Regions from separate parts of the Homo sapiens genome. Here all the other regions are linked to region 3. The links are contacts of gene promoters, found by promoter capture Hi-C in blood cells and fetal thymus (Javierre and others, 2016). All regions are on one chromosome and are shown on one strand. The core of a region is centred on a gene start or on the middle of the fragment in contact, and the rest is flanking DNA. Distances in the headings are between cores, read along the strand shown. Region 1 overlaps SMARCD2 (SWI/SNF related BAF chromatin remodeling complex subunit D2). Region 2 has its middle 15 kb from the start of SMARCD2. Region 3 holds the start of SNHG25 (small nucleolar RNA host gene 25). Region 4 overlaps DDX42 (DEAD-box helicase 42). Region 5 has its middle 5.9 kb from the start of GH2.

Region 1 (5,453 bases), core at 43-2,542, 310 kb before region 3:
CTGGGCTAATCCACCCTGGGAACTGCTGTGGGTAAAAATCACCCAGAGCTTTACATAGGAGTCCCCTCGGGAAAGAGGACTACACCTTGAGGTCTCGGCGCTGGGAACGGAGCCATTCCTGGATGAAGTCCTGGGGGTCGGTGCTAAAACTGAGCATGAAATCTCTCTGGGTCTTCAGCTGGTTGATGGACTCAATGGTCTCATGGATCTGGAGAGGGTACCTGTGTCAGACTGTGCCCCCAAAGCTTACATGCAAGCAACTGAGCCAGAGTTCCCATCCCGTCCTCCAGGTGCTACATGTATGGAAATGCTGGACAGAGCCAGCCCACCCCAATCCTGGGCCCCAGAGGAAGCTGTGGAGCCAGAGGGCCCACCTTGACATCAAGGGAGGCGATCTCCTGCTGATTGGTGGTAGAGGCCAGAAAATTGCTCATTTGGGCCTTCAGTGGGTCGTCCACCTCCACATCGATGTCGTAACAGGCTGTCTTCTTCTGGTCGTTAGGGTCGACACTGCAGGCAGCACATGGGGAGGGAAGGCACATAGCTGACTTCATCCTGCCCACCTGGGCCAAATCTGGGGCCCATTCTCTGCACACACTCAGGGAAAAAGAAACCTGATGCTTTCTTTGGCTTTAGTTCAAGCCAAGGGTGAATCTGCTCTTAGAAGAGCCTTCCTGTCCCCCTCCTTGCATTTACCTAATGACATGGTTGATGACAATGGGGTCTGGATGCTGCAGCAACCCTGCCAGCTTCATGGGAATCTCGGAGAAACGGAGTCGGCCACAACTGAAGATCTGGAGGAAATACGAAAGGCTCAGCGTTGGCTTGTGGGCACAGTGGAGTGGACCATTCCAGGACCAGTGAGGGCAGCAGTCTGCAGGCTGTGGCCAAGGAGTAGCCCAGCAGGCAAGGCAAAGCAAGGGCTGAGAAAACGGGGGCTGGCATCTGGCTAACCTGGCGGAAGTAACGGTTGCAGTTGATGTACTCCCGCTCGTGCCCATCCTGCAGCTGGTTGTGCTTGATGTAAAGCCACAGGGCCTGCATGATGGCGGCCCTCGTCTGCGTGTGCACTCCCAGCAGCCTTGCCAATCGGGGGTCCAATTTGTACTGGGGAGGCTGGAGTTGGATGGAGGGGAGTCAGAACGGGTTCTTATAGTAGAACAGTGGGAAAATAGGGCAGGGACAGGAAGGGTTTCTAGGAACCAGCTCCCCTCCTGAGGGGTCCCTGTGGGCCCAGAAATGACCCCAGGGTCTCTGTCACCTGATGATCCAGCATGAGCAGGAGGGTGCACTTGACGTTGAGGTCTCCAGGCCGTTTTACTTGGAAGCCATCTGTCTCCTGGGTGGTGGGCATCCGGTGCCACTGGCAGGGAGGGAAGCATGGCTTATCACCAAGGGGGTGGGCGTGAACACAGGGCCTCCCAAGGGCCCTGAGGCCATTTCCCTGCCAAACCTGCACATCAGCCTGCTTTTGCCCCAGGCCCACTCTCACCTCCACCAGGTGATTGTCAGGCCCGTACAGCTCCTTGTCCAGCTCAATGACGAGGCTCTTAAAGAATGAAGAAAACTTCCTCTTCTGTTTGCTAGGCTGGGGATGGAAAGGGGTGTGAGATGGTGCTGCTGAGCTCTCAAATCTCAAGCTATGCTAAATCCCAAGAAAGAGAAGCCCCATTTCAGCCCTGGAGCTCCGGATACTGAAGATTCCTGGGCCCTGAAGGATGGAAGCAGGACTCTGGGCAGACTGGAGGCAGGGAAATGGTGCCCTCTTGCAGCCCACGAGGGACTTCCTCGAGACACTCGACTGCCATCTGCAGGAACACTGTAATAACCACACAAATCAACCTCCAACGGGCTTGGAGCAGCGCCCCCCTCCCTATGGCAGGACTTCTCTGGGAGCGCCCAAGTGTCTGGCCCAGTCTTTTTTTTTCTGAGACACAATCTCACTCTGTCACCCAGGCTGAAGTGCAGTGGTGTGATCATAACTCACTGAAGCTCGACCTCCTGGGCTCAAGCCATCCTCCTGCATCAGCCTTATGAGTAGCTGGGACTACAGGTGCATGCCACCGCACCCAGCTAATTTTTAAATTTTTTGTAGAGATGGGGTCTGGCTCTGCTGCTCAGGCTAGTATCAAACTCCTTGGTCTCAGTCTTAAACCCACACAGGCCTCCTTCCCTCCAGAACCTCCCTCCCCAACTCACATCATCCAGCAGTTTTCCTTCCACTCGGAGTTCCCAGGAAGCCACCTTGTCCCCTGCTGGGGTTCCCCCAGGGGTCCCTGCAGTTCCTGCACTATCGCCTTCCGCCTTGCTGGGACTGAACGTATTGGAAATGTAGATCCGAAGCTTTCGCTTTTGCTAAAGAGAGAAAGGCAATCACAACTGGAGGTGGACCAAGATGCTGGGACACAGTGCTACCGCATCTTCTCATATGAACCATTCAACAATCAGTACTGAGCACCATGAGCCAGCCAGGCACCTTGTCAGGTACTGGGAATCAGAAGTAGTAAGTCCCAGTCCCAGCCTTTTTTTTTTTTAGACATGGTCTCACTCTGTCACCCAGGCTGGAGTGCAGTGGCGCGATCTCAGCTCACTTGCAACCTCTGACTCCCAGGTTCAAGCGATTCTCTTGCCTCAGTCTCCCATGTAGCTGGGACTACAGGTGCGCACCACCATGCCCAGCTAATTTTTTGTGTTTTTGTAAAGATGGTATTTCAACATGTTGGCCATGCTGGTCTCAAACTCCTGACCTCAGGTGATCTGCCCACTTCGGCCTCCTAAAGTGCTGAGATTACAGGTGTGAGCCACCGCACCTGGCCGGAACTCACCATTTTATGGGGAAAGAGATGCATCACCAACAATGCCAGCACAGTGGGACTGGTGCTACGGCATGATGGAGTAACACGCAGCCAGTCTCTGGCTCACATCTTACATGAAACCCAAACACCCATCACGGCTCCAAAATATCCTAGTCCCCTGGAAAGGCTTCACCACTCGGGACTGTTCTACATTATTATTAAGAAAAGCTTCTCGGCTGGGTGCAGTGGCTCACGCCTGTAATCTCAGCACTTTGGGAGGCCGAGGCAGTCAGGAGTTCGAGACCAGCCTGGGTAACATGGCGATACTAAAAATACAAAAATTAGCCGGGCGTGGTGACAGGCATCTGTAATCCTAGTTACTCGGGAGGCTGAGGCAAGAAGAATTACTTGAACCTGGGATGCGAAGGTTGCAGTGAGCCGAGATCGCAACACTGCACTCCAGCTTAGGTGAAAGAGCGAGACTCCATCTCAGAAAAAAAAAAAAAAAAAAAAAAGAAAATTTCTCTATGGATGGGGAAGGGGAAGGAGAAAGGAACTACCTTTATCCCCTAGTCTAGTGGTTTTCAAACTTTTGACCACCACCCATAAGATTTACATTTTCAATTATGACCCAAGGTCTGCATATCTATTTATCAGAAACAAAAATGTCATGAAAGAATCCATTTACTACTATGGTAAGTACTACTGTGAAGTATTTTAAGATTTTCTACTGTCATATATTCATTTAAAACATACTGGCCCCAACACATTCAACTGAGTTCGTACTCTACTAGTGGGCTGCATCCTGCATGTGAAAAACCCGGCTCTAGCCCAACTTGCTTGGCCCCTGGAAAACAAGGGGGTGGAAGGCAAGGAAACCTGGGAAGGCTAGAGGTGGTCAGGGCCACACATACTGTCAGAGGCTTTTTGATGGCCTCCTGGATCTCCATCCGCTTGCGAGCAATGGTCTGGTCCAGCTTCCGCTCAAAAGCCAAGAGATCCATGTACGCCTGAGACTCTGGAACAAGCTCCCGGATCTGAAGGAAGGTAGCAGAAGCTCATCAGCTTGCTTCAGCCAAAGCCTGGCTCTTTCCTCCCTTCCTGCTGCAGCCCAGCTTTGAGAGAGATGGACACCCACCCCAAGGTGGCCACTGGGCAGGCCTCCCAGGTGTCCTCTTAACACTTACTCGCTGAGGTAGAACCTTATCTGCCATCTTCCTCCTCTTTAACCTGGGGAGGACAGAAACCCACTTAAGAGGTCAATGGTCCAAAAAAGGACACTCACTCCCATAACGCCCCTCCAGTCTCCAGGACCCTCTCCCCCAGGAGAGCCTGGAGTCATCCTCAGTCACCAAAGCTCTTAAGATAGAAGGAAACCCTCTGCTACCACCAGAGCTGAGTTAGGCAGAGTGAGAGAAGCAGGATGCTCTTACCCCCGGCGCTGGGCAGGCATGGGAGGCTGCGCCTGGGGCACAAGCAGGCGTTTTCGGAATGGATCCATCATGGTGGGTGGCATGCCAGGTCGAAGCGGAGCTGCTGCACCAAATGGGGAGCCAGCAGGGGGTCCCACCTGCAAGCCAGCCATGGGCATCCGGTTCCCTGGTGACATGCCAGGTCGCTGGGGGAAGTGAGCCAACGGGGGTGCATAGGTCAGGGGCAAGGCCCTCCGGGACCCATAGCCCATGCCCTCCATCCCTCTCGTCAGCCAGGTAGGGCCTGAGCAGCACACCAGAGCCCTGCTGGAGCCCCAGGAACAAAGGGGAGTGGGCGCCTGAGCACAGAGTGTAAACCACACCTGCCCTGCCCCCTGCAACCGCCCTGGCAGCCATGCCAGCGAATGAGGCCTGCCAGAACCTGGGCTGGGAGGAGGGTCCTGCCTGCAGAGGGAAGGGCCTTGGGGAGCTTTTCAGGGCCCATTGCTACCTTCCAGCCCCAGCATGCTGTGCCCTATTCCCTGGGCAAGCTGGTCCCTATTCTCTCAGACAGTCCTGCCAAGCCCTGCCCTCCTTCTCTTTCTCCCATCATGAAGAAGAAGCATGGCTGAGAGGCACAGGGGCAGTGTCACTGCCAGGCAGAGGAGTGTACTATAGTATGAGTAGGCCAATGGCGCAGAGCCCCAATCCCCATCCTCTGTGGCCGAGGGAGAAAGGGGTCTGGTAGGCAGCAGCACCCCAGGTGAGCAGGGCTGCAACAGGATGGCTTGGAACGTGTACCAGCTGGTGGGGGTGGCCTCGGGCAGGGTACAGGGACCCTGTACCCTGTAGTCTGGTATCACATAGCCCCCACCCACAGCCCAGAACTGGACCCTCCTCTTACCTCCCTACTGCCCAACTACTACCCCTATGACAGAAGACCCCAGAAGGGAAGCTATGGCTCCTGGGTGGCCTGTGGGAAAGAGAGCAGCTAGCACCTGGACTCTGCCAGTGGTCCAGGCACCACCTGGCAGCCAGGACTGGCTCTGGCTCCGTGTAGCCCTGGCAATCCCAAGCTGGAGAAGGGGGCTAAGATTATCCTGGGAGGCAAGGATAGAGGCCCAGGCTGAGCAGCAGGAAAGTGGGAGACAGAAATAGCTTCTTTAGATGCCTGCAGAAGGATTTCCCACCTGAGGCCTTGCTCCCTGACATTTCTGTGGAGCCCATCTGGGAGTCACCTCCACCC
Region 2 (5,492 bases), core at 2,071-4,570, 290 kb before region 3:
TAATTTTTCTAGACTAGTGAGGTTTCAGAAAAAGGGACTGAGTTTTAATATCAAATAAGCAATTTTCCTTATATATATATTTTTGGTCACTTTCTCCAGCATTGCTGTCTTTTTCTCTCCAGCCTTTGGCCCTTCTTATCAGGATGAAAACGCTTCTGTTTGGTGTCTGGACCCTGCTGGCCTTGATCCTTTGCCCAGGTGAGGCTATTCGGGAAAGCTTTTTAAACCAGTATGTGTCAGGACACAGGTAGCTGGTCAGTGAGGAAGGGGGTGGGGAGTCCTGAGTGGGGTGACACTTCAGTGTTCATTCATCTGGACCCGGGGGAAAGATTCCTGTCTCTTGGATCACTAGGACACAGAATCGTTACGGTCTCTGGCTTGTATTTGGGATAACACTAGTTAATAGACTATCAGAGAGGACTCTCCCTAGGAAACATGCCTTCTCCGCTTGGTTCCCTTCTGCCCCAGGACTGCCCTGTGTTTCTCCTCTTGAGAATGTTTTTACTTCTTTGTTGCCACCGTTTGTGTCATGATGAACTATAATAGGCTCTTGGTAGGACAGGACCCATACATAGCTCAGGTACAGAAAGTGAGTTCTCCTGATGACGGGAAAGGAACAGGGGCCTTAGCAGGTAACATTGCTACAAGAGCTGTGTATTCCCAGAGGGGACTGGTATTGGGAGGTGAAGTAGATGGTAGATATGGACTAGCTAAAGAGGACCTGTAGAGAAGCCTTCAGGACTTCCTGAAGTCTCCGTGCCCTTTACCTACATCAGGCATCTAAAATCCATCCGAGGCCAGGCGTGGTGGCTTGGCCAGGCACAGTGGCTCATGCCTATAATCCCAGCACTTTGGGAGGCTGAGGCAGGCGGATCACCCAAAGTCACGAGTTCGAGACCAGCCTGACCAACATGGTGAAACCCCGTCTCTACTAAAATTAGCCGGGCGTGGTGGCATGCACCTGTAATCCCAGCTACTTGGGAGGCTGAGGCAGGAGAATCACTTGAACATGGGAGGCGGAGGTTGCAGTGAGCCGAGATCGTGCCATTGCACTCCAGCCTGGGCAAAAAGAGTGAAACTCTGTCTCAAAAATAAAATAAAATAAAGTAAAATAAAATAAAAATCCATCTGACATCTCCCATTGCATCAGAGAAGATTTCCAGAACAGACGAAATTTGTAAGCATCCAAAACATCCATTCCCTTAGCGCCAAATCAAAATGGAATGGTCTCACTCTGAGAAGAGGCATAAAGAAGAGGCATGGAAAATGAGTGACCCTGGGAGTTACCTGCAGGCCAATGGATCTGAGAATTTGGTGTGCATAAGGGTCCCCGGGAGGCTTGTTTTATTCCTTAGCATATTTTCAGGTCCCACCTTCACAGGTTTGAAACCATGCGCTCTGAGGTGGAGTTGGAGTCTGCAGTTTACAAGCATTTAGGATGATTCTGGCAAAGGGAATCCTTAGCCATAATTTGAGAGAGACACTGCTTTCAGGGATAAGTAATGAAGTTCGAATCCTGTGAGGGTCCACAGCAGCCTATTATGGGGAGCTTTCAAGAATTCTGAAAGTTTAGGAAGATATTGGTTTCCTGGGCATAATTTTTTTTAGCAACTCCATAATTTCCATGGTGATACTAATAGAGAATTCAAGTTCTCAAGAAAGATGATAGGTGGAGGGAATAGTGGTGAAATCAGAGCTAACTTGTTAACTACAGTTTTTTTTTGTTTGTTTGTTTGAGACGGAGTTTCACTCTTGTTGCCCAGGATGGAGTGCAATGGCACAATCTCAACTCACTGCAACCTCTGCCTCCTGGGTTCAAGTGATTCTCTGCCTCAGCCTCCTGAGTAGCTGGGATTACAGGCACGCATCACCATGCCTGGCTAATTTTGTATTTTTAGTAGAGACGGGGTTTCTCCATATTGGTCAGGCTGGTCTCTAACTTCCAACCTCGGGTGATCCGCCCACCTTGGCCTCCCAAAGTGGGGAGGATTACAGGCGTGAACCACCCCGCCCGGCCAATTACAGGTCTTTTGTCCTGTCTGGTTGTCTGAACCTTTTTTTTCAGGGCAGGTTTCCTGTTCTCTAACCTGGAACTAGATAGAATAGGTTCTGTATTTATTTGGGTCTCGTGGTCCTCACCAGAGTCATTGGCATATGTGGTTCATTTTTTTTTTTTTTTTTTTTTGAGATGGAGTCCTGCTCTGTTGCCAGGCTGGAGTGCAGTGGCACAATCCCGGCTCACTGCAACCTCTGCCTCCTGGGTTCAAGCGATTCTCCTGCCTCAGCCTCCCGAGTAGCTGGGATTACAGGCGTGCGCCACTACACCCAGCTTATTTTAGTACTTTTAATAGAGACGGGGTTTCATCATGTTGGCCAGGATGGTCTTGATCTCTTGACCTTGTGATCCGCCCGCCTCGGCCTCCCAAAGTGCTGGGATTACAGGCGTGAGCCACCGCGCCTGGCCGATGTGGTTCATATTTCAGGGGTCCCGGAAGAGTTGTTTGAGGTTTCTATTTGGCCAAGTCAGGCCCTGGTGGAGTTTGGACAGTCCCTAGTGGTCAACTGCAGCACTACTTGCCCAGACCCAGGACCCAGTGGAATTGAGACCTTCTTAAAGAAAACTCAGGTGGGCAAAGGGCCTCAGTGGAAAGAGTTTCTTCTGGAGGATGTCACAGAGAATTCCATCCTGCAGTGCTTCTTCTCTTGTGCAGGGATTCAAAAGGACACAAGCCTTGGCATCACTGTGTATTGTGAGTAGGGCTGAGGGCTGGGGGCAGGGGGATGGAAAGGAGGAATGGGGAAACATGAACATGTCTTATTTAGGGAAGGATGGGACAAATGTTTCTAATTAGGGGAGATAATTAAGGCCCTTAATAAAGATTTCTGGCATACTGTAGGGATTCTAGATCCAATCACCTTTTTCATTTATTTTTTTTTTTTTGAGATGGAATCTTGCTCTATTGCTCAGGCTAGAGTGCAGTGGTGTGATCTCAGCTAACTGCAGCCTCCACCTGGGTTCAAGCAATTCTCCTGCCTCAGCCTCCCCAGTAGCTGGGACTACAGGCAGCCACCACCATGCCTGGCTAATTTTTGTATTTTTTTTAGTAGAGACAGGGGTTTCACCATGTTGGCCAGGCTGGTCTTGAACTCCTGACCTGAAGTGATCTATCTGCCTCAGCCTCCCAAAGTGCTGGGATTACAGGTGTGAGCCACCTCAAGTCCAGCAAGTAGAAGTGAGCCGGGCCCACTTCTACTTCCCTTTGATGTAGGCTTTCTTCTGAGTTTTAAATTAGGAGCAGACCATAGAGAGCATCCAGATTATCTGTGCTTGAAAATATCTTCAATACAGGAAACATATGCTAATAATGTTTATGGTTAAATTACCAAAAAGTATAAGATTAGCCTGGCCACAGTGGTTCATGCTTTAATCCCAGCACTTTGGGAGGCCAAGGCAGGAGGATCACTTGAGGCCAGGAGTTTCAGACCAGCTTGAGAAACACAGTGAGACCTCTGTTTCTACAAAAGAAGTTTTTAAAATTAGCCAGGCATAGTGGCGTGCACCTGTGGTCCCAGCTACTTGGGAGGCTAAGGTGGGAGGATCCCCGGAGCCTAGAAGTTCAAGCCTGCAGTGATCTATGATCACACCACTGCACTCCAGCCTGGGCAACAGAGTGGGATCCTGTCTCTTAAAAAAAAAAAGTATGAAATTAATGCTGAATTGTTTGCTACAAGCTCTTGGAATAAACAGAGATTGGAGAGAGAAGGGTTTTTGTGAGCTGGGGCAGCCTGAGAAGGCTCCATGGTAGAGGAGGCTCCTGCACTGCCCTCCCCCAGGATAGTTAGGGTTTGAATTGAAGGGGACAGGTGAGGAAGGCCTTTCAGGTGGGCAAATAACATGGACAAAGATATGGCACGAAAGCAAATGTGGTCTCTATGGGGTCAGAACTTGGTTAGCTATAGTTTGGTTTGTTTGTTTGTTTGTTTTGAGATGGAGTCTTGCTCTGTTGCCCAGGCTGGAGTGCAGTAGCACAATCTTGGCTCACTGCAACCTCTGCCTCCCGGGTTCAAGCAATTCTCTGCCTCAGCCTCCCGAGCAGCTGGGATTACAGGCACCTGCCACCGCACCTGGCTAATTTTTGTATTTTTAGTAGAGACTGGGTTTCACCATCTTGGCCTGGCTGGTCTGGAACTCCTGACCTCAAGTGATCCGCTTGCCTTGGCCTCCCAAAGTACTGGGATTACAGGCGTGAGCCACTGCACCTGGCCTGCTACAGTATAGATTTTATGTGATGCTAAGGAGCCCCCGGAAGCTGCTCTTGCCTCTGAAGCCCCTCTGGTAAGAGATCAATGCTTTCCAGAATGGCAGCAACAGTCAAAGCAAGGGACTCTCCCTCAGCAGTCACTCTTCTTTGCTATGGCCATAGCCACTTTTGATGCGAAGAAGAAGAGCCAGAAGACTAACTCACCCCATCTAGGGCAGGGATGGCAGAAAGCTGACATTGCTGATCAGATGGTTTAAGGGTGGCAGTCACCTTCTGTGATTTGTATCACCTCATCTTTCTGTCCTATGCTGTTTCTTTCTGGAGAGGTGGGTGGCATGCTCATCAAGTCCTGCCTTTTTGTCTTAAAGAGCCACCAGAGCAAGTGATCCTGGAGCTGCAGCCTGCCTGGGTGGCTGTGGACGAAGCCTTCACAGTGAAGTGTCATGTACCCAGTGTAGCACCCTTGGAGAGTCTCACCCTTGCCCTTCTCCAGGGTAACCAAGAACTGCATAGAAAGAACTTTACGAGCTTGGCTGTGGCCTCCCAAAGAGCTGAAGTCATCATCAGTGTCAGAGCCCAAAAGGAGAATGACAGATGCAATTCTTCCTGCCATGCAGAACTGGACTTGAGTTTGCAAGGTGGGAGGCTCTTTCAAGGCAGCTCACCCATCAGAATAGTCCGGATCTTTGGTGAGTCAGAACTCAAGTGCAGGAGGAATCCTGGGGCTCATCTTGCCTTGGCCTTTGGGACTAAGTTCTCACGGGGTTTAGGGTGAGGATGTGAGAGTAACTGAGCTCCACCTTTGCTTGAGCTTTAAACTCACCCTGCGGAAGAGAGACATTTTAGCCCCACTCCCTTCCTACCTTGAAGGGTCCTGCATGATGTGTGATTTATCATGGCTTTTCTCCTTTCTCTTCTTGTCCTCATTTTTTTGGCAGAATTCTCTCAGAGTCCCCACATCTGGGTCTCTTCCCTTTTGGAGGCTGGGATGGCGGAGACTGTGAGCTGCGAGGTGGCTAGGGTGTTTCCAGCCAAAGAAGTTATGTTCCACATGTTCCTGGAAGACCAAGAGCTGAGCTCCTTCCTTTCCTGGGAGGGGGACACAGCATGGGCCAATGCTACCATTCGGACCATGGAGGCTGGTGATCAGGAACTGTCTTGCTTTGCATCTCTGGGTGCAATGGAACAGAAGACAAGAAAGCTAGTGCATAGCTACAATAAGTGGCCTGG
Region 3 (5,964 bases), core at 901-3,400:
GCAGTGAGCCAAGATAGTGCCACTGTACTCCAGCCTGGGCGACAGAGCCAGACTCTGTCTCAAAAAAGAAAAGAAAAGAAAAGAGAAGAGGAGAAGAAAAGAAAAGAGCAGGCCGGGCGCGGCGGCTCACGCCTGTAATCCCAGCACTTTGGGACGCTGAGGCGGGAGGATCATGAGGTCAGGAGTTTGAGACCAGCCTGGCCAATATGGTAAAACCCCATCTCTACTAAAAATACAAAAATTAGCCAGGCATGGTTGTGCATGCCTGTAATTCCAGCTACTGGGGAGGCTGACGCAGGAGAATTGCTTGAAGTCGGGAGGCGGAGGTTGCAGTAAGCCAAGATTGTGCCACCGCACTCCAGCCTGGGCAACAGAGTGAGACTGTCTCAAAAAACAAAACGAAACAAGTAATGGAGCAAAGCTTCTGTTGCTCCACATCCTCACTGGCATTTGGTATTTGAGGCATAATCTTAACACATCACAATCAAAGCCAACAGCCAACTTCCAAGCAAGTACATAATACACAAAGCAGAGCTGTGGACAATGTAATTACAACACAACTAAGGTTGAATTAATAAATAAATATTTTATACCATGTTTGTACTTGATAGTGAAAACATCTTCGTTTCAACAATCTGTGGAACACTTATAAAAACTGATATTTTAGGTCACAAAGAAAACTTTCATACATTGCCCAATGCGGAAACTGTACCATAATGTAATAAATGTTGAGATAACGAAAGTTAAAACAGCAACAAAAATAAATAGAGACTACTAAACACTTGTCAAAGTCATTATTGCTTTGGATTAAAGAGGTTTTTTTTTTTTTTTTTGAGATGGAGTCTCGCTCTGTTGCTCAGGTTAGAGTGTAATGGCGCGATCTCAGCTCATTGCAACCTCCGCCTCCCGGGTTCAAGCGATTCTCCTGCCTCAACCTCCTGAGTAGCTGGGATTACAGGGGCCTGCCACCACGCCCGGCTAATTTTTGTATTTTTAGTAGAGACAGGGTTTCGCCATGTTGGCCAGGCTGTTCTTGAACTCCTGACCTGATCCATCCGCCTCCGTCTCCCAGAGTGCTGGGATTACAGGCGTGAGCCACCGCGCCCGGCCAAAGAGGAATTTTTTGAATTTAAAGTCTATATAGAAAATAAGGAAAATAAGAGCCCATTCAACTACAAACCCATAGGGTGAAATGATTTCACTGTCACATACACACACACACACAAAACAATAAATTTTCCGTATTAAGAGGAAAAAAAGGAAAAGAATTCCCAAGGAAAACAGGGAGGCAATAAAGATAACCGGCGACTGTGACTGCTGGTGTACTGTGTCCTCCCCCAGTTAAGCAAACTATCATTCATCCACCTGTATGTCCGGGGAACAGGCTCAATCAACTCTGCGAAGCTTTCCCAAAGTCAGGCTTTCTGTCCTTTGGGCTTCTACAGTAGGCTGTTCATAGCGCTATGTTAGTATTTATTAAAGTTTTGCAATCCCAGGAAGTTTTTCACATCACTCTGCCCTTTAAATACCTTTGTTTACCACTTAGAATGTGCCAGGCAATTGGCATTAATTCACCGAATCCTTACAATTTTTTTTTTTCGCGGTGTGTGTGTGTTGGGGGGGGGCGGCGGGGGGGTATTCCTAATTTCCAGAAACTGAATCTCAGAAAGGTTAACTGAGCAAGGTCACAGAGCGAACGCATCACAAAGTCAGGATGTGGTGCAGATCGGTCCATTTTCAATACAAGCTCTTTCTACCACGACAGGTTATTTTGCACTTGGGGACAGTTTTTAACTTTCCATTCTCAACTCCTATCCTAGCTCCTGGCACAGAACATGTCATCCAAGTTAGGCATCATCGTCGCCTGCTCTTGGTGAAGTTTTCTTTTGCGTACTGCGGAGAGATGCGCTCATTACCAGCTGGCGGTGGAGTCGCTGAAACGCAAATGGATTTGAGACTGAGCGACTCCCATCTCTATGGTTGGTATGTGACCCATCTATCCTCTGGAGGACTCAGCAAGGACTACCAGTCACCAGACAACTTTACGCGCACGTGGTCGCAAGGTGAACTTGCTATTGGTTAATGGCAGTAAAGCCCGCCCATCAGCGCTGGTCTGCTCCTTTAAAAGAACGCCATCGACGCTCCCCTGTCTTTCAGCGCCTGCAGGTTCCGGGAGGTCAGGTTGTATTCCTGGCGGGTCGTCTGGCTGGGTGGGCCCCGGAGGTCGTGGCTCGGGAGCAGGGAGGCGTAGGGGGGCCGGCCTGCTGTGATGACATTCCAATTAAAGCACGTGTTAGACTGCTGACGCGGGTGATGCGAACTGGAGTCTGAGCCTGCCCGAGCGGAGCTGGGAGGGGGCTGGCGGGCGGGCGCGCGCACACCCGCTGATCTATCACTCTCGTTCTTGTAGCTCCCAGCCGAGGACGTCGGATGTCATCGTCCTTGCTGCTTTGCCACCCCATTCCCGTCAATAAAGTGGTTTGAACCCAACCCTGGTGTCGGTGTGTGTCGTTGGCGACGCGCTGTCTTTGAGCCCCCGCCGAGCTTCCTCGTGGCGCCGGGGGTCAATCTGCAGCGCTAGAGCATGTGCTTGCGCATAACTGGGGCCGCCTGGCCTCCCGCGGGCGGCCTTTTTAACCGCGAGCGACAAGAAGTAACCTGACTGTCCGGCTGCTAGGCTGGGCAATTTTCCAGCTGTTTTGCCACGACAGGCCTCAATCCGTAATACCAAGGCTGGAATGGCGTGTTAGGGGGGCGGTGGCTGACGGGGATACGCGGACTCTTGATGCGTAAGGAGTGCCCCTCTGCTCCCATACGTTCCCCAGCCCAGCCTTCCCTGAGTGTATCGCGCGCGCTGTGCCTTCGCCGTGAGTTCGACATAAGTCCCAGGCTGTCGCGTCTGCCATCAGACGCGCAGATTTAGTTGAAGGCAGCGTGGAATGGCGTCTGCAGGGCTGTTGTGTACTTGACATAAACAGATTCGGTGTGGAACTGCATTGAGTTAACTCCTGACTAAAGGGTAATCGACCTGTTTACAAATAACCATGCAGGAGTACTGACAAGCATGGGACTAAAGCTTTGGGCAGGTTAATCTGTCACTCCTAAACAGTTCAAAATTATAGGGCGGTTGTGAAGGTGAATTAGATTTTATATATGGTTGGGGACAACATAGACACCTAGTTACACAGTCCAGATTCAGTGATTGGTAAAAGATCTTCCACAAGGGCTCCAGTGAAAGGTGCATCAGTTCTGAGTACAGGGCAGCAATGGTGGGCAAGGATGCACGTATGCGTTCACTACATGGACATTCGATGAATGAAGGTGTCCCGAATTAACATTATACTAGACAATGAAGGGTGTAAACTGCAGCCCAGGAGCACCACTGCCCTACCCCCTCAGTTACGAACTTTCACTGGATTCTTTAAATGTGGGCTGAAGATAATGGCACATAGTTTGAAGGATGTAGTGAGGATGGCTTTGTAGCCTTAGGACTGGGCAGTGATCAACGCAGTAAATGAAAGCTGCGATTGCCAGGTGAGGGCCCCGGTGCTCTGTACTCATTTTATTGTGCCCCTATCTGAACAGGATTCCGTAGAAATGACTTAGATGCTTATCTAGTATTTGACATTGAGATATTTATTTTGTGAAACAATGCAAGCGATTTTAAATCCCCACATACTATTTGATTAAGTGCAACATGGTACAGTCATGTGTAATCTCTTTACACGATAGTGCATCTAGTCCTTAGCCTTTAGTTATTGCACAACAATTATAAAGACCAGTGACCAGGACACGTGGACTCTGACAGGCAGATCGGCCTACACAACGAAAAATCAGAACAGTACACCAACTGGAATGGTCAAACAATTTAAGTCAAATGTTTTAATGGTGCAATTAAAATAAGGGTTCAAACATGTTTTCAATATATTAATTTCTTTAAAGTCATGTTCAGGCAAGGTGCTGTTTAAAAAACCACTATTAGCTTTGTCCACACATGTAAGTTATCAAAAGTTACCCAAGGTAATTTTGACGTTGAATGCAGCTTTAAACAATAAAAAAATGGTATTAGGTTTACTTCTCGAAGCAAAGAGAGCCCCCAACCTTGTAAACTAAACATTCTGACACAAATGCACAAAATTAAGTTGGCAACATTAATTTTGAGATGTAGTGTGATGCTGAGCAAACTTTTGGTCTTGACTCTTGAAATAATTAAAGAGAGCAGTTCTCCGTTTTGGCCTTCAGGAAGGGAAATCTGCCCATGGAACTCTCCCAATCAGATTAACAAACTGTTTCGATTCCCATATAAACCTGGAGGACACAGGAAACGCCAGATGGAAAAACTGGCTCTGGCTTTCTAACCCCATCCCATCTGTATGAGAGGACCCATCCTGTCATGTGCAGTGTTTGATGTTTTCACATACGCTCCTGTCTCAGGAAAACATTCAAGATTAGCTAGCCCCCAGGTGGTTGTACCTCATTGGTGAAAGGCTTGGGATGGTTTGATCTCATGGCTTTGCCTGATGTTCACATAAATCCCACTGTCCTTACCCAAGCTGATAGCGTGTTGTGTGTGTACTATGGCTACTTGCTTCCCAAATGCACAATTTAATGTGGAAAATAAGTTGCTCTGCCCATCTCTTCTGTCACCGAAATGAAAAGGCTCACAGAATTCCTCTCCCCACCCTCCAGACACATTGCACACTGACATTCTCTGGAAGTGTGGAAGGCCGCATACAAAGTATAGAAGTGAAAAAGTCCACTGTGCACCGGCTGCCTGAAGAAAAGCTTTGGAGGAGTAGAGGAGGCAAGTTGTTCAGCTTTGCTCTTACTGTGCTCATTTGCTGCCACAAACATGGGTAGACTTTTAAAAGCCATGGTGTGGGTCACGTATAACTTCTGGATCCACCATGATTCTTCCATGGTCTCCTTTGCCAAATCAAAGCTTTGCAGCAGGCAATCCAGACAGTTGTCACTAGATGCAGGGAATGACACCTCACAGTGGAATGGGCACTGGCAGGCAGAGGGCAGAAGCAGTCCTTTAAGAAACAGTAGCTGTGGCACAGAGGCCAGTGCTACAGTACAGATGGCGGCCAAGAACCCCACACATCCAGCTCGATGTCACAATATGGGGAACATCTGACATCACCCATCATGGCTGATCAGCAGCCTCCACAGGTGGGTCTTTCAGGAGGCAGGAAGTAGAGCGAGGGTCCATGGCTGAGTGCATTATAGTGATATAAACATCATCCATGTTTGGCATGACAAAAACTTTCTGTAGGAAGATATTAAAGAACAGCTATGTGGAAGAATGCCTTGCCAGGCTGTCACCCTCCTTTGTTCTGATAATTTTAGGGCTTAGACTGATTTTTAAAAGTACATATAAAAACTTGCTATGCATTCCAAACTAATTCTCCCACCATACATACTTTAGAAAGAGTTGAGGAATCATACCAGCGCATGGATACGAGAATCCTCTAATATATCAGCTCGGAGGCAGAAGTGGCCTTTGATTTTGTATACATATAATAAGGTTGCCCATATGCACTGATATATATCCAACAATTTAAGAGAATTGGCTTAAGCTGTTCACAGTAGTTCCCAGTTACTATGTCTAGAACACATATTCCATGTGAATTATCCTTTTATTAATAAATCCTAGCGATAAAATGTAAGCTAATGGCCAGGTGCGATGGTTCACGCCTGTAATCCCAGTACTTTGGGAGGCCAAGGCAGGCAGATCATCTGAGGTCCAGAGTTCAAGACCAGCCTGGCCAACATGGTGAAACCCTGTCTCAACTAAAAATACCAAAAAATTAGGCCAGGCATGGTAGCTCACACCTGTAATCCCAGCACTTTGGGAGGCCGAGGTGGGCAGATCACGAGGTTAGGAGATCGAGACCATCCTGGCTAATACAGTGAAACCCCCATCTCTACTAAAAATACAAAAAATTAGCTGGGTGTGGT
Region 4 (5,919 bases), core at 660-3,159, 330 kb before region 3:
ATTTTTGTATTTTTAGTAGGGACGGGGTTTCACCATGTTGGTCAGGCTGGTCTTGACTCCTGGCCTCAAGTGATCCGCCCACCTCGGCCTCCAGAGTGCTGGGATTCATAGGCGTGAGCCACCGCCCTGCATTCTTAAGAGAATGTGAGTAAATATGTTGAGTGGCAATGGTCAAGTTCAATGAAAACTTTTACGCTCTGCGGGTAAATAAAATTTTCAGTTGTGTGGCTACCATCCTTTCTGGGAGTCTGTCCCTATAGTCAGTTCTGATAAGCCTCACTTCACATAGCATTTTTCCTTTGCTTCTGAACATACCAGTTGTTTAAGTTCCAAATGTTTACGTCCAATAATACATGGTTTGAGAAATAAAATATAAGCTCATTTTCCTCAAGGAAGTTAGAAGTAGCCAAAGTTACTCCTCTGGGTTTGAAGCTTACCTGAACAACTTCCCTTCCAGGAGAGCCTTGAGGGAGGGAGCACTGTAGGAAGCCTTAGATAAGGATCTCAGCCACTTTTCAAATTTGGTGGATTATGCTACCAAAGAGAAACCAATCTGTGGTTCCTGTGAAAATTCCTCCCTTAGCGTAGTGCTGGCTGAAAATTAAGCAAAAGTTCCCCCTTCCCACTTAATTTCCTCTTTGTCCTCGTTCTCTTCTTCTGTTCTTTTCTCCCTCCCTTGACTTAACCTTGAATTTTGTTCAATGCAGAATGCCTGGTTTCGGAAATCTCGATTCAAAGGAGGGAAAGGAAAAAAGCTGAACATTGGTGGAGGAGGCCTAGGCTACAGGGAGCGGCCTGGCCTGGGCTCTGAGAACATGGTGAGTCTAGACTACTACAGTAGTGCCTTTATAGTTGGTCTCATGTCCTGAAAGTCATTAGGAATATTCTCATCTACCCAGGAAAGCCTCAGTGAGTTTAAAGCCCTGTCTAGAAGGGAATTTGTATTTAATCTGATTTGAGTCAATGCAGTGCTCATTCTTATGGTAACTTTCTATTGAAGAAGCATCTTTGTGTACTTGGTTGACTAGGCTTGCTCAGGAAATTATTCTAGATTAGCAGTGATCTCACACTGTGGTCCCTGGACCAGCAGCACATGCAAACTCATCCCCAACCCCAGACCTTGTGAATCAGAAACTCTGGAGTTGGGGCCCAGCAGTCTGGTTTTATAAGCCCTTCAACACTGGCCTAAAGCCTGCTGCTAGGTAAATGTTGCCAAAGGGTCACTGTAAAGTCTAGCCATATCTTGTCATTAAACTCAGGAACGGATCAGGAATTTCCAAGTCGGGAGCTAGTTTTTCTCACAAACCAGGTAACAAATGTACCCTTTTGGTGGCCTTTCTTAACTGCCTGTTTTCTGTCACCTTGATTCCAAGCCAGGGAAGAAAGCTGCCAGTATACTTTTCTGGAGCATTAAACTTGGCATCTTTGTAATTACATACTCTGTTCCCACATTATAATAATAATGATGATGATGCATAATAATAGGTAATATTTATTGAGCACTTTATATGTGCCAGGACCATTCCAAGCAATCAGATGTTTTGGCTCAGTTAATCTTCAAAATAACTGAATGGAAGTTAGTACAGATAACAATGCTGAGGCACCTAAGGTTACAGTGACAAGTGTTCAAGCCGAAATTCAGACCCTTCATGGTCTTGATTCAGGGCCTGAGCAGTCACACAATATGCTATTCAGGGCCTTTTCATCTTTAACGTAATTTTTACTTAATTAATTGGAAGTGTTTATGTAAATACATGATCAACTTTGGGCATAATCTGATTGCATTTCTGTTTAATAGGGTTAATTTCCAGAAATAGAATTTCTGGGTTGAGGGCATAAGCATTTTTAAATGATTGTCACTGTGTCTTTTCTCACAAAGCAGTAGCAGCTTTCTAAAAGTATCCAGTTCCTTTGTAGCTCCCACTTCAAGGGTTTTCATAATGAGGCCTAGTCTATAGCAGTGAGCTTTCCTGCTTATTTTTTCATTCTCATAGATGTGTTTATTTTTTTAGGATCGAGGAAATAACAATGTAATGAGCAATTATGAGGCCTACAAGCCTTCCACAGGAGCTATGGGAGATCGACTAACGGCAATGAAAGCAGCTTTCCAGGTCTGAAATAAGCATTTCATTAAAAGCACTTTCAGCAGTAACTCTTGGGCAGTGACAGAGGGGCTTAGTTTTCCTGGTTGTAGCTGGGCGCCTAGGCTTGATGCTAGATTTAGGGTCTTCACGCTGCTTGGATTTTGAATATAAACCTAACAGTAGCTTAGTTGGAAATGCAAGTTGATCTAGAGAACCCCTTGTGCTGGTCTACTTTGAGTCACACTTGGGGCCTGGGATTGTTGTCCTGCAGCAGGGTGTGTGTTCCCTCCCTTCCCAACAGCCTGAAGTGTTGCCCACCTCCCAGGCACCCACCTCCAACTCACTTCTGAAGCAAAATTTACTGATAGTCACACTAAGGTGAATCGATAGAATGAGTTCAAGGCAGGTTTTGCTGTCAAACTTAAATTGCAGTATGAAAATTTTTTTTAAGTTTTCAGAACTTTTTGGTTTTGAATGCAGATAAATGTGCTAAATACATAGATGCTTTATTCTAGCCAATCAGGCTATAAAAGTACATTTCAGAACACTGGGGGTCCATCTCTCCACAGAGATCCACAAGTTTTCCTTTATAGCACAAGAACAAAAGGGACCATACTGTGGGGCCATCAGGACACTAAACTCACAGTGCCAGGATAGCACAGAGTTTCTGTAAACCTCATCATTTGCCAAGTTGTATATTCAAGTTTCTTGAACTTGCTATCTTACCTACTCCTGATGTCTCTTTCTCTTTCAGTCACAGTACAAGAGTCACTTTGTTGCAGCCAGTTTAAGTAATCAGAAGGCTGGAAGTTCTGCTGCTGGGGCAAGTGGGTGGACTAGTGCAGGGAGCTTGAATTCTGTTCCAACTAACTCAGCACAACAGGGCCATAACAGTCCTGACAGCCCCGTCACCAGTGCCGCCAAGGGCATCCCAGGCTTTGGCAATACTGGCAACATCAGTGGTGCCCCTGTGACCTACCCGTCTGCCGGAGCCCAAGGAGTCAACAACACAGCTTCAGGGAATAACAGCCGAGAAGGGACTGGGGGCAGCAACGGGAAAAGAGAGAGATATACTGAGAACCGGGGCAGCAGCCGTCACAGTCACGGAGAGACTGGCAATCGGCATAGCGATAGTCCACGTCACGGAGATGGTGGTCGCCATGGAGATGGATACCGCCATCCAGAAAGCAGCAGCCGTCATACTGATGGCCATCGGCACGGGGAGAACAGACATGGAGGAAGCGCAGGCCGGCATGGGGAGAACCGGGGTGCAAATGATGGTCGGAATGGGGAAAGCAGGAAAGAAGCTTTTAATCGTGAGAGCAAGATGGAGCCCAAGATGGAACCCAAAGTGGACAGCAGCAAGATGGACAAGGTGGACAGCAAGACAGATAAGACAGCTGACGGCTTTGCTGTCCCAGAGCCGCCTAAACGCAAGAAAAGTCGATGGGACAGTTAGAGGGGATGTGCTAAAGCGTGAAATCAGTTGTCCTTAATTTTTAGAAAGATTTTGGTAACTAGGTGTCTCAGGGCTGGGTTGGGGTCCAAAGTGTAAGGACCCCCTGCCCTTAGTGGAGAGCTGGAGCTTGGAGACATTACCCCTTCATCAGAAGGAATTTTCGGATGTTTTCTTGGGAAGCTGTTTTGGTCCTTGGAAGCAGTGAGAGCTGGGAAGCTTCTTTTGGCTCTAGGTGAGTTGTCATGTGGGTAAGTTGAGGTTATCTTGGGATAAAGGGTCTTCTAGGGCACAAAACTCACTCTAGGTTTATATTGTATGTAGCTTATATTTTTTACTAAGGTGTCACCTTATAAGCATCTATAAATTGACTTCTTTTTCTTAGTTGTATGGCCAGGCAGTCCCCATTTTAGGAGTTGGCTTCTGCAAATTCAATCCATTGAGCTAACTGTTGGGGAGCAATTTGGTAGTTGTAGACATTTGCAGGGAAGGGAGATGTCTGATTCTAAATGGGAGTTGATGCTCAGGTCCCCAGCCAGGTTTGCATCCAGCCCTGAGACATGTAGGAAACACCTTTCAGACCCAGGCTCTGAAGATTCCCAGAAGCCACAAGGATTGAAGGGAAAAGGTGATCCTGGTAACTGTTCCAGGATTGCTCCAGGTTTGAGATGGTATTGCTAAATTTAAAATTAAACAAGAAACCCAACAACAGCTTTTAAAGTGTCTTCTATCTCATTGTATTTTTTTTAACTTGCCCCAATGATAGAAAAGTCTTTTGCTGAAATGATTTTGATGATTTTTGTTTATCGTTTATAAAAAGGAAAAGAAATATACAAACTTTGACTTTTGTGACTTTGTGAAGGTTTCTTTAAGATGTGCATTCCTTTCTGCTTGCTCTCTAGTAAATGTTTTACTACCGGGACCTGTGGATCGTTTGTCATTTCTGTCTATGAATTGGTACATATTAAGAATAGTGCCGCACACAGTGTAGGGACAGATAGGGAAGTGCTTATTAAAACTGTCAGAAAAGACAACTCTTCCATTATCCTGGTTTTATTCAGGAATAGGATGGGGGTGGGGAGGGCTTAAGTGGCCCACACGTCCAGGTGTAGACTGACTACATTGAGTATCGCTCCAACACCGAACTTCCCTTTAACGGTTTAAAAAAAGGGTCATGAGTGTCAACACAGTTCAGCAGTGTTTTCATGGGAGACCTTCAGGCAGGCAGGAGGACATCCTCCTCTCTGCTCAGGACCACCACGGGAGTTCTAGGCACTCCACCTCACTGTTCTTCAGACAGCTGTGATGTGAGCAGGGGCTAGGCCGGTAATCAAGGGGGCCAGACTGAGCCATGCCACACCCTTCCTCCTAGTCCCCATGCTCTCCTGGGAGCCTGGCAGCTCTGCTTACTTCCGTTTGTGTTTTTTCTTTTGTTCCTTACGTTGCTGTGCTCTTTGGTCCTTCTTCATCCTTGAGTCCACCACCTTGAAATGACCTCTGACTCCAGCTGGCCGGCGCACTTTGCGGCCCACACCTTTTTTGGCTACAACGTAGGTGACATGGCGTTTCTCCTTGCCAAGCCCAGCCTTCTTGTAGAGACTACAGGGGGGAAGAGAAGAGGTTAGAGGCTTGCTTTCTGCTGCACTTTTAGCCCTGTGTACCTTTGTGGTGTCCTCCCATTACCTTCGCAGCTGTGCCACTTTCTCTCGTTCTGAGATGTCCACTGTGTTCACCACGGCTTCTGCCTTCTTCCTGGTCTGCTCCAGCCTCTTCAGCATCTGCAAAGGAACCTGTCAGGTGACCTCTTCCCCATCCCCCCACCCCCACCCCACCCAATCTCTGGAGGCCCCATCACTTACCCTCCTTTTCTTTCTAGCCTTAGCCTCAGCCACCTTCTTGATGGGACGTGCATTGATTTCCCGCCAGCGTTTCCGGTAATGCTCCACCTCCTTCTTACCAACAGGCAACTGTCGTATCCGGTGCTGCTTTTCCTCTTGCACAAACCACTCCGGAAGCTCCCCCTCATCCTCATTAAATGTGTACCTGAGTGGAAAGGACATCTGTCTAATATCCAACATTCCAGGCTTTCTAAAGAAATTACCAGACTGGGCACGGTGGCTCACGCCTGTAATCCCTGCACTTTGGGAGGCTGAGGTGGGCAGATCACCTGAGGTCAGGAGTTTGACCAGCCTGGCCAACATGGTGAAACCCCATCTCTACTAAAAATACAAAAATTAGCTGGGCGTGGTGGTTGGCACCTGTAATCCCAGCTACTCAGAAGGCTGACTCAAGCGATTCAAGGAGAATCAGGCTGCAGTGAGCCAAGATCGTGCCATTGCACTCCAGCCTGGGCAACAGAGCGAGACTCCATCTCAAAAA
Region 5 (5,476 bases), core at 1,151-3,650, 260 kb before region 3:
GGCGTGGTGGCTCATGCCTGTAATCCCAACACTTTGGGAGGCTGAGACATGTGGATCACCTGAAGTCAGGAGTTTGAGACCAGCGTGGCCAACATGGTGAAACTGATCTCTACTAAAAATAGAAAAATTAGCCGGGTGTGGTGGCATGCGCTTGTAATCCTAGTTACTGGAGCGGCTGAGGCACAAGAATTGCTTGAACCTGGGAGGCAGAGGTTGTCATGAGCCGAGATCGCGCCACTGCACTCCACCCTGGGCGAAGGAGTGAGACTGACTTTGTCTCCAAAACAAACAAACAACCAAAAAAAACCAAAAAGAAAAGTAGAAAAATCCTCATCTCTGAGTTCACTGTTACCTAGCTCCTTACCCACCGAGAAACAAACATGGGAAGCAGGGGCCCCAGGGCCACCATGGACAGAGCAGGGTTATCATTTAGTCCAAATCCATAAGAACACCCTAGGTTTCATCTGGGACTCCCTGCCCATACGGAAAGTGGGAAAGAAGAGTTGGCTCAAAGCAGGGAGCTGCTAGTGCTCCCTTGGGAAGGAAAGCTGTTGGGTGGAGGGGACAGCATTTGGGTGAGGGGAGGAGAGGGAGCAGGGGGTGAAGTAGGGAGGGAGTGTGGTGCACTGAACTCAGCTCCTTGGGATACTGTTTCTGCAGACCAACCACGGTTAGAGGAATCCAGTTGCTCTGCCAAACAGACCTGGCTGGAAGGGATGGAACACACGCTCACCTGCGTCCCAAAGGGAAACCCAGCTCCAGCCTTGGTGTGTACCTGGAATGGGGTGGTCTTTGACCTTGAAGTGCCACAGAAGGCAACCCAGAACCACACTGGAACCTACCGCTGCACAGCCACTAACCAGCTGGGCTCTGTCAGCAAAGACATTGCTGTCATTGTTCAAGGTAACCTTTGCTGCCCTGCTGCCAGGCCCAGGATGGAAACCCCTCAGGGGTTTGGGATTCTTATCTAAGCATGAAAATAAGAAAGATTCTACTAGGTTGGGAAGAATGAGACTCAGAAGTGGGCCTGGTGGGCTGGGGTGGGTGATCCTTGTACTCTCAGACTTTCCTAACTCTATCTTCTGTGCTTGGGCAGGACTGGATGAAGGAATAAGCTCTACCCTCTTTGTCATTATTACCGTTGCCCTTGGAGTGGGTGTCATCACCATAGCACTGTATTTGAGCTATCGGCCCTGCAAAGTGGACAGGAGGAAATTGCTCTATAGGCAGAAAGAGGAGGACAAAGAGGAGGAAAGCCAGTTTGCTGTTCAGGAAGAGAAAAGTACAACTCATATAATTGACAACTGTTTGATTGAATGAGACTTCTGCTACTGTGGTTTCCCAGGGAGGGAAGAAGGGATAGAGGAGAAAGGAAGAAACACAATGGCAGGCTGCATTCCCCTTTGTGTACGTCTGTCCTGTAAAACGGTGTTTCAGGCCCCCATGCCCCATGTCCTGTGTGTCCAATATGTCCACAAGCTCACCATTCTCTCTCTCTCTCTCTTTTCTTTTCTTTTTCTTTTTCTTTTTTTTTTTTTTTGAGATGGAGTCTTGCTGTTGTCGCCTAGGCTGGAGTGCAATGATGCGATCCTGGCTCACTGCAACTGCAGCCTCCCGGGTTCAGGTGATTCTCTTGCCTCAGCCTCCCTGGCAGCTGGGATTACAGGTGCACACCACCATGCCTGTCTAATTTTTGTACTTTTCGTAGAGATGGGGTTTCACCATGTTGGCTGGGCTGGTCTCAAACTCCTGACCTCAAGTGATCCGGCCACCTTGGCCTCCCAAAGTGCTGGGATTACAGGTGTGAGCCACCGCGCCCAGCCACCTTTCTCTTTAGAGCTCACTCTATTCATTAGGAATCTCAGTCTCAATGTTTGATTTGTAAGAAGGCCTCTTGCTCCTTGCCAGGTGCATCATCAGTCCACTCTTAGATCCAAAAAAAAAAAAAGAAAAGATCTTGCCGTTTCTTCATGGTTCTCACTGCCCTTTTCTCTTAAACATCATACTAAAGTCAGGCATATCTTAGAAATACAACTCATATTTCATGGTTTTCTGATTACTAACTGGGAACTAAATCTGTAGTCCAAGGACAGGACTTTGAAGGGAGTAAGTATCAAATATGGGGCCAGGAATCAGAGCTCTGTTCCTATCTCCACTTTCCCTTGCTCCCCTGACCTGGGCTTCTGGAGGGCCAGCTCCCAGAGCTGAGCTTGTTGACATCATTAAGGATCAGTGGCAAGCTTCAACTCAGTAACCATCTGTTGCGGGTCTTGGGGGAGTATACAGATGGTAAGAAATTCCACTTTGGGCCAGACGGGCATCCTATCTAGCTCAGTATTCTGTCTCTGAAGGAGAAGGTAGAGTTCTTCCATGAAATTGGCCTCATAGGTTAAGAGCTCCAAACATCTCTGAATTCCTTTTCATAGAGTGATCAACTGTGAGTTCGCATTTGCCAGTTTTCTTTTTTTTACCCATATGGGCATCTAGGTTAAAGTTCCAATCTTTACTCTCCCTTTTCATCAATAAGTGCATATTTTCTTCTGTCTGTAAACAATTTCCTTGAAGCTTCAAGAGGAATCTTCTTGTGAAAATGTTCATATGATTTTATGTTTCAGCTTCTTTCCCTGTCCTTGAGAAAGAGTATATTCACCCTCGGAGAAGGCGTGAGGAATCACAGAACCAGATGTTTTCTCCCAAATCAGTCAAGAAATGTTCACTGGAATGTTGCTATGGTAAAAATAAAAGTGGTTTTATGATGTCCAAATGCAGTTCCCTTCCCTTCTGTGTCATTGCTAAAAGCTCTTATGTCAAATGGCTGCATTTTATAACTTTTTTTTTTAGATGGAGTCTCGCTCTTTGCCTAGGCTGGAGTGCAGTGGTGTGATTTCGGTCCACTTCAAACTCCACCCCCGGGTTGAAGCAATTCTCTGCCTCAGCCTCTATAGATTAAGAGTAGCTGGGATTACAGGCGCCCACCACCATGACCAGCTAATTTTTTGTATTTTTAGTAGAGACAGGGTTTCACCACCTTGGCCAGGCTGATCTTGAAGTCCCGACCTCGTGATCTACCCACCTCGGCCTTCTAAAGTGCTGGGATTACAGGCCTGAGCCATCACTCCCGGCTGCATTTTATAACTTTAAGTACAATTTCTAAGGAAAAAATACCGTGTTGATAGCATAAACAACCAGCCCAGGGCCGGGGGTGCATTAACTGAGGGCAGCAGCCTATTTGACCTGCTTTCAAAACTGAAATTCAGGCTGGTGTGGTGGCTCACGCCTGTAATCCCAGCACTTTGGGAGGCTGAGGCAGGTGAATCACTTGAGCCCTGGAGTTTGCGAATAGCCTGGGCAACATGGCAAAACCCCATTTCTACAAAAAACACAAAACTTAGCCAGGTATAGTGGCACATGCATGTAGTCCCAGCTACTTGAGAGTCTGAGGTGGGAGGATCACTTGAGCACGGGAGGTGGAGGGTTGCAGCGAGTTGAGATCATGCACTGCACTCCAGCCTGGGCAACGGAGCCAGGCCCTGTCTCAAAAGCAAAATAAAGGAACAAAAATGAAAGCTAAAGGTCAGACTTCCAGATAGAGAGAGGTCCATAGCCTTCCAAATTGCAGATACCAGCTAGAAAAAACCATGGCATCAGACAGCAGAGGGAAAACGTTTTCCCATTCTTCCCAGACCTCCCCTGAGTCTGGTGCTATAGATTAAGTGTAAAAGTAACCCTTTGGTTTCACCACATACAAGGCAGTGGGGATACAGTGGTGAACAAAACATTGTTCCTGGCTTCCAAAAATATATTAGGAAAGCTAGACAAACAAGTAGGAGATTACATTTGTGCATGAACTCCTATGACTGGGAAAACAGATTGTTAAGAGAAAGCATAACTCGGATCAAGGAAGGCTTCCCGGAGGGACACGAAATATCTTGACTTTGTAAAATAGCATCATCCCCGAACATGAACTTTTCAACCTCAATGTTTCCACTAGGTGGAGCTACTGCTCCTTCATCATGTGAGTCTAATATAAATCATCCACCTTCCCTGAATTGAGCATTTGGGGAAGTAAGTTAAGAAGCAGGTTTAAGAGACAGGAGTATACAGCCACACCATGCAGGGATCCACAGCCATTTTGGTGTCAGGATCAGTCGCATCAGGGCTGTAGTTACCCTGTATCTGCAAACCCTGCCTCATGGCCTCAGTGCCTTGAAGCACAGCGAATCCAAAAAGGAAGGGAAAAATGAGCCAGGCATGGTGGTGTGCACCTGTAATCCCAGCTACTGGGGAGGCTGAGGCAGAAGAATCGCTTGAACCCGGGATACTGAGGTTGCAGTGAGCCAAGATTGCACCATTGCACTCCAGCCTGGGCAACAGAGTGACACCCCATCTTGAAGAAAACAAAAACAAAAGCAAACAAACAAAAAACAAAACAAACAAAACAAAAAAAAGAGGGAAGAAGGGGGCCACTTGGACTTTCTAGTTCCAGCAGGGAGATCCTGGAGGCTTAGCCGGCTGCTGCCTTTGCTTCTCACTGCCACAGGGTGTCAGTGTTGACAGATGGTCCCACACAGTACCCTCAAACCAAGCGGGTCTGCAGATCCGGGTTCCCAGCTGCTGTGGATCTCTGAGGGAGGATGATCTGCTTCTTCGGGGCCTGGTCCAGCTGCGGGTGTCCTCTTGCTGGGGTTTCCAGGGTTCCAGTTCTTAGAGCTCAGTAGTTTGGATGAGCCGTCCCGCAAAGCTCTTCAGAGTAGGCTGGGCTGTTTCCCTTGTAGACTTGGAACCTCTGTTCGCTTTCCTTCCCGAAGGATCCACACAACCAGTGGTCAGGCAGGCAGCCCCTTCTCATTGATTCTTTTTTTTCTTTTCTTTTTTTTTTTTTTTGGAGACAGAGTCTCGCTCTGTCTCCCAGGCTGGAGTGCAGTGGCACAATCTCGGCTCACTGCAACTTCTGCTTCCCAGCTTCAAGCAATTTTCCTGCCTCAGCCTCTGGAGTAGCTGGGATTCCAGATGTGCGCCACCACACCCGGCTAATTTTTGTGTTATTAGTAGAAACAGGATTTCATCATGTTGGCTAGGCTGGTCTCAAACTCCTGACCTCAGGTGATCTGCCCAGCTTGGCCTCTCAAAATGCTGGGAGTACAGGCGTGAGCCACCACACCCGGCTTCATTGATTCTTAAAGTAGGAAGGGTCTCATATCTCTTTTCCAGTATAATAGAGCTTCTAAGGGTAGCTGCCTCATTGTCTATAAGAGGAGGCCCCACCCTCTAAATGGTTTTGATCATATTCTTTCTGAACATTAAAGCAACCAGCTTATGCTTAAATTGCAGCTACCTTGATTATCTCCAGAGGAAGAGTGGCCTTTAATACTCCAAAAGTTTACCCTCTTTCTTACTATTTTTGAGAGAGAATCTTGCTCAGCCATCCAGCTGGAGGGCAGTGGCATGATGGGCTCAGTGCAACTCTGCCTCCTGG

Evidence for each region. The method cuts DNA at HindIII sites, captures the fragments that hold promoters and counts their contacts. A CHiCAGO score of 5 or more calls a contact.
Region 1: a contact is called between a fragment that was not itself captured here and the fragment with the promoter of SNHG25 in region 3, in 5 of 17 cell types (naive CD4 T cells, naive CD8 T cells, total CD8 T cells and 2 more). The highest score is 7.6, in naive CD4 T cells.
Region 2: a fragment that was not itself captured here is called in contact with the fragment with the promoter of SNHG25 in region 3 in 12 of 17 cell types (naive CD4 T cells, naive CD8 T cells, total B cells and 9 more); the score reaches 12.9 in naive CD4 T cells.
Region 4: a fragment that was not itself captured here is called in contact with the fragment with the promoter of SNHG25 in region 3 in 1 of 17 cell types (total CD8 T cells); the score reaches 5.8 in total CD8 T cells.
Region 5: a contact is called between a fragment that was not itself captured here and the fragment with the promoter of SNHG25 in region 3, in 6 of 17 cell types (naive B cells, total CD8 T cells, total B cells and 3 more). The highest score is 8.9, in naive B cells.

Annotation. Positions count from the first base shown.
Region 1 is chr17:63,833,213-63,838,665 of GRCh38, forward strand. SMARCD2 (SWI/SNF related BAF chromatin remodeling complex subunit D2) reads right to left here. Exons shown (of 13, transcript NM_001098426.2): 2 at 4,229-4,413; 3 at 3,983-4,025; 4 at 3,710-3,832; 5 at 2,200-2,355; 6 at 1,493-1,588; 7 at 1,262-1,363; 8 at 955-1,116; 9 at 697-794; 10 at 375-510; 11 at 86-208. Among named protein-coding and RNA genes, the nearest start is that of SMARCD2, 6.7 kb to the right of the region's middle. RefSeq lists an enhancer at 1,831-1,990. The HindIII fragment of the contact is 2,098 bases long and covers 244-2,341 here.
Region 2 is chr17:63,854,674-63,860,165 of GRCh38, forward strand. It overlaps the pseudogene TCAM1P. Among named protein-coding and RNA genes, the nearest start is that of SMARCD2, 15 kb to the left of the region's middle. The HindIII fragment of the contact is 6,211 bases long and covers 216-5,492 here.
Region 3 is chr17:64,143,820-64,149,783 of GRCh38, forward strand. SNHG25 (small nucleolar RNA host gene 25) reads left to right here and starts at 2,151. Exons shown (of 2, transcript NR_132278.1): 1 at 2,151-2,181; 2 at 2,411-2,490. SNORD104 (small nucleolar RNA, C/D box 104) reads left to right here and starts at 2,259; the gene lies at 2,259-2,338. SNORA50C (small nucleolar RNA, H/ACA box 50C) reads left to right here and starts at 2,520; the gene lies at 2,520-2,652. TEX2 (testis expressed 2) reads right to left here. Exons shown (of 12, transcript NM_001288732.2): 12 at 3,408-5,272. The coding sequence ends at 5,150. RefSeq lists enhancers at 1,838-2,392, 2,370-2,579. The HindIII fragment of the contact is 1,672 bases long and covers 1,403-3,074 here.
Region 4 is chr17:63,814,856-63,820,774 of GRCh38, forward strand. DDX42 (DEAD-box helicase 42) reads left to right here. Exons shown (of 18, transcript NM_203499.3): 16 at 708-818; 17 at 2,013-2,111; 18 at 2,839-4,462. The coding sequence ends at 3,543. It overlaps FTSJ3 (FtsJ RNA 2'-O-methyltransferase 3), which reads right to left. Exons shown (of 21, transcript NM_017647.4): 19 at 5,400-5,583; 20 at 5,224-5,318; 21 at 4,578-5,139. The coding sequence ends at 4,947. Among named protein-coding and RNA genes, the nearest start is that of PSMC5, 9.6 kb to the right of the region's middle. RefSeq lists an enhancer at 4,970-5,919. The HindIII fragment of the contact is 2,959 bases long and covers 431-3,389 here.
Region 5 is chr17:63,885,150-63,890,625 of GRCh38, forward strand. No RefSeq gene overlaps it. Among named protein-coding and RNA genes, the nearest start is that of GH2, 5.9 kb to the left of the region's middle. The HindIII fragment of the contact is 325 bases long and covers 2,239-2,563 here.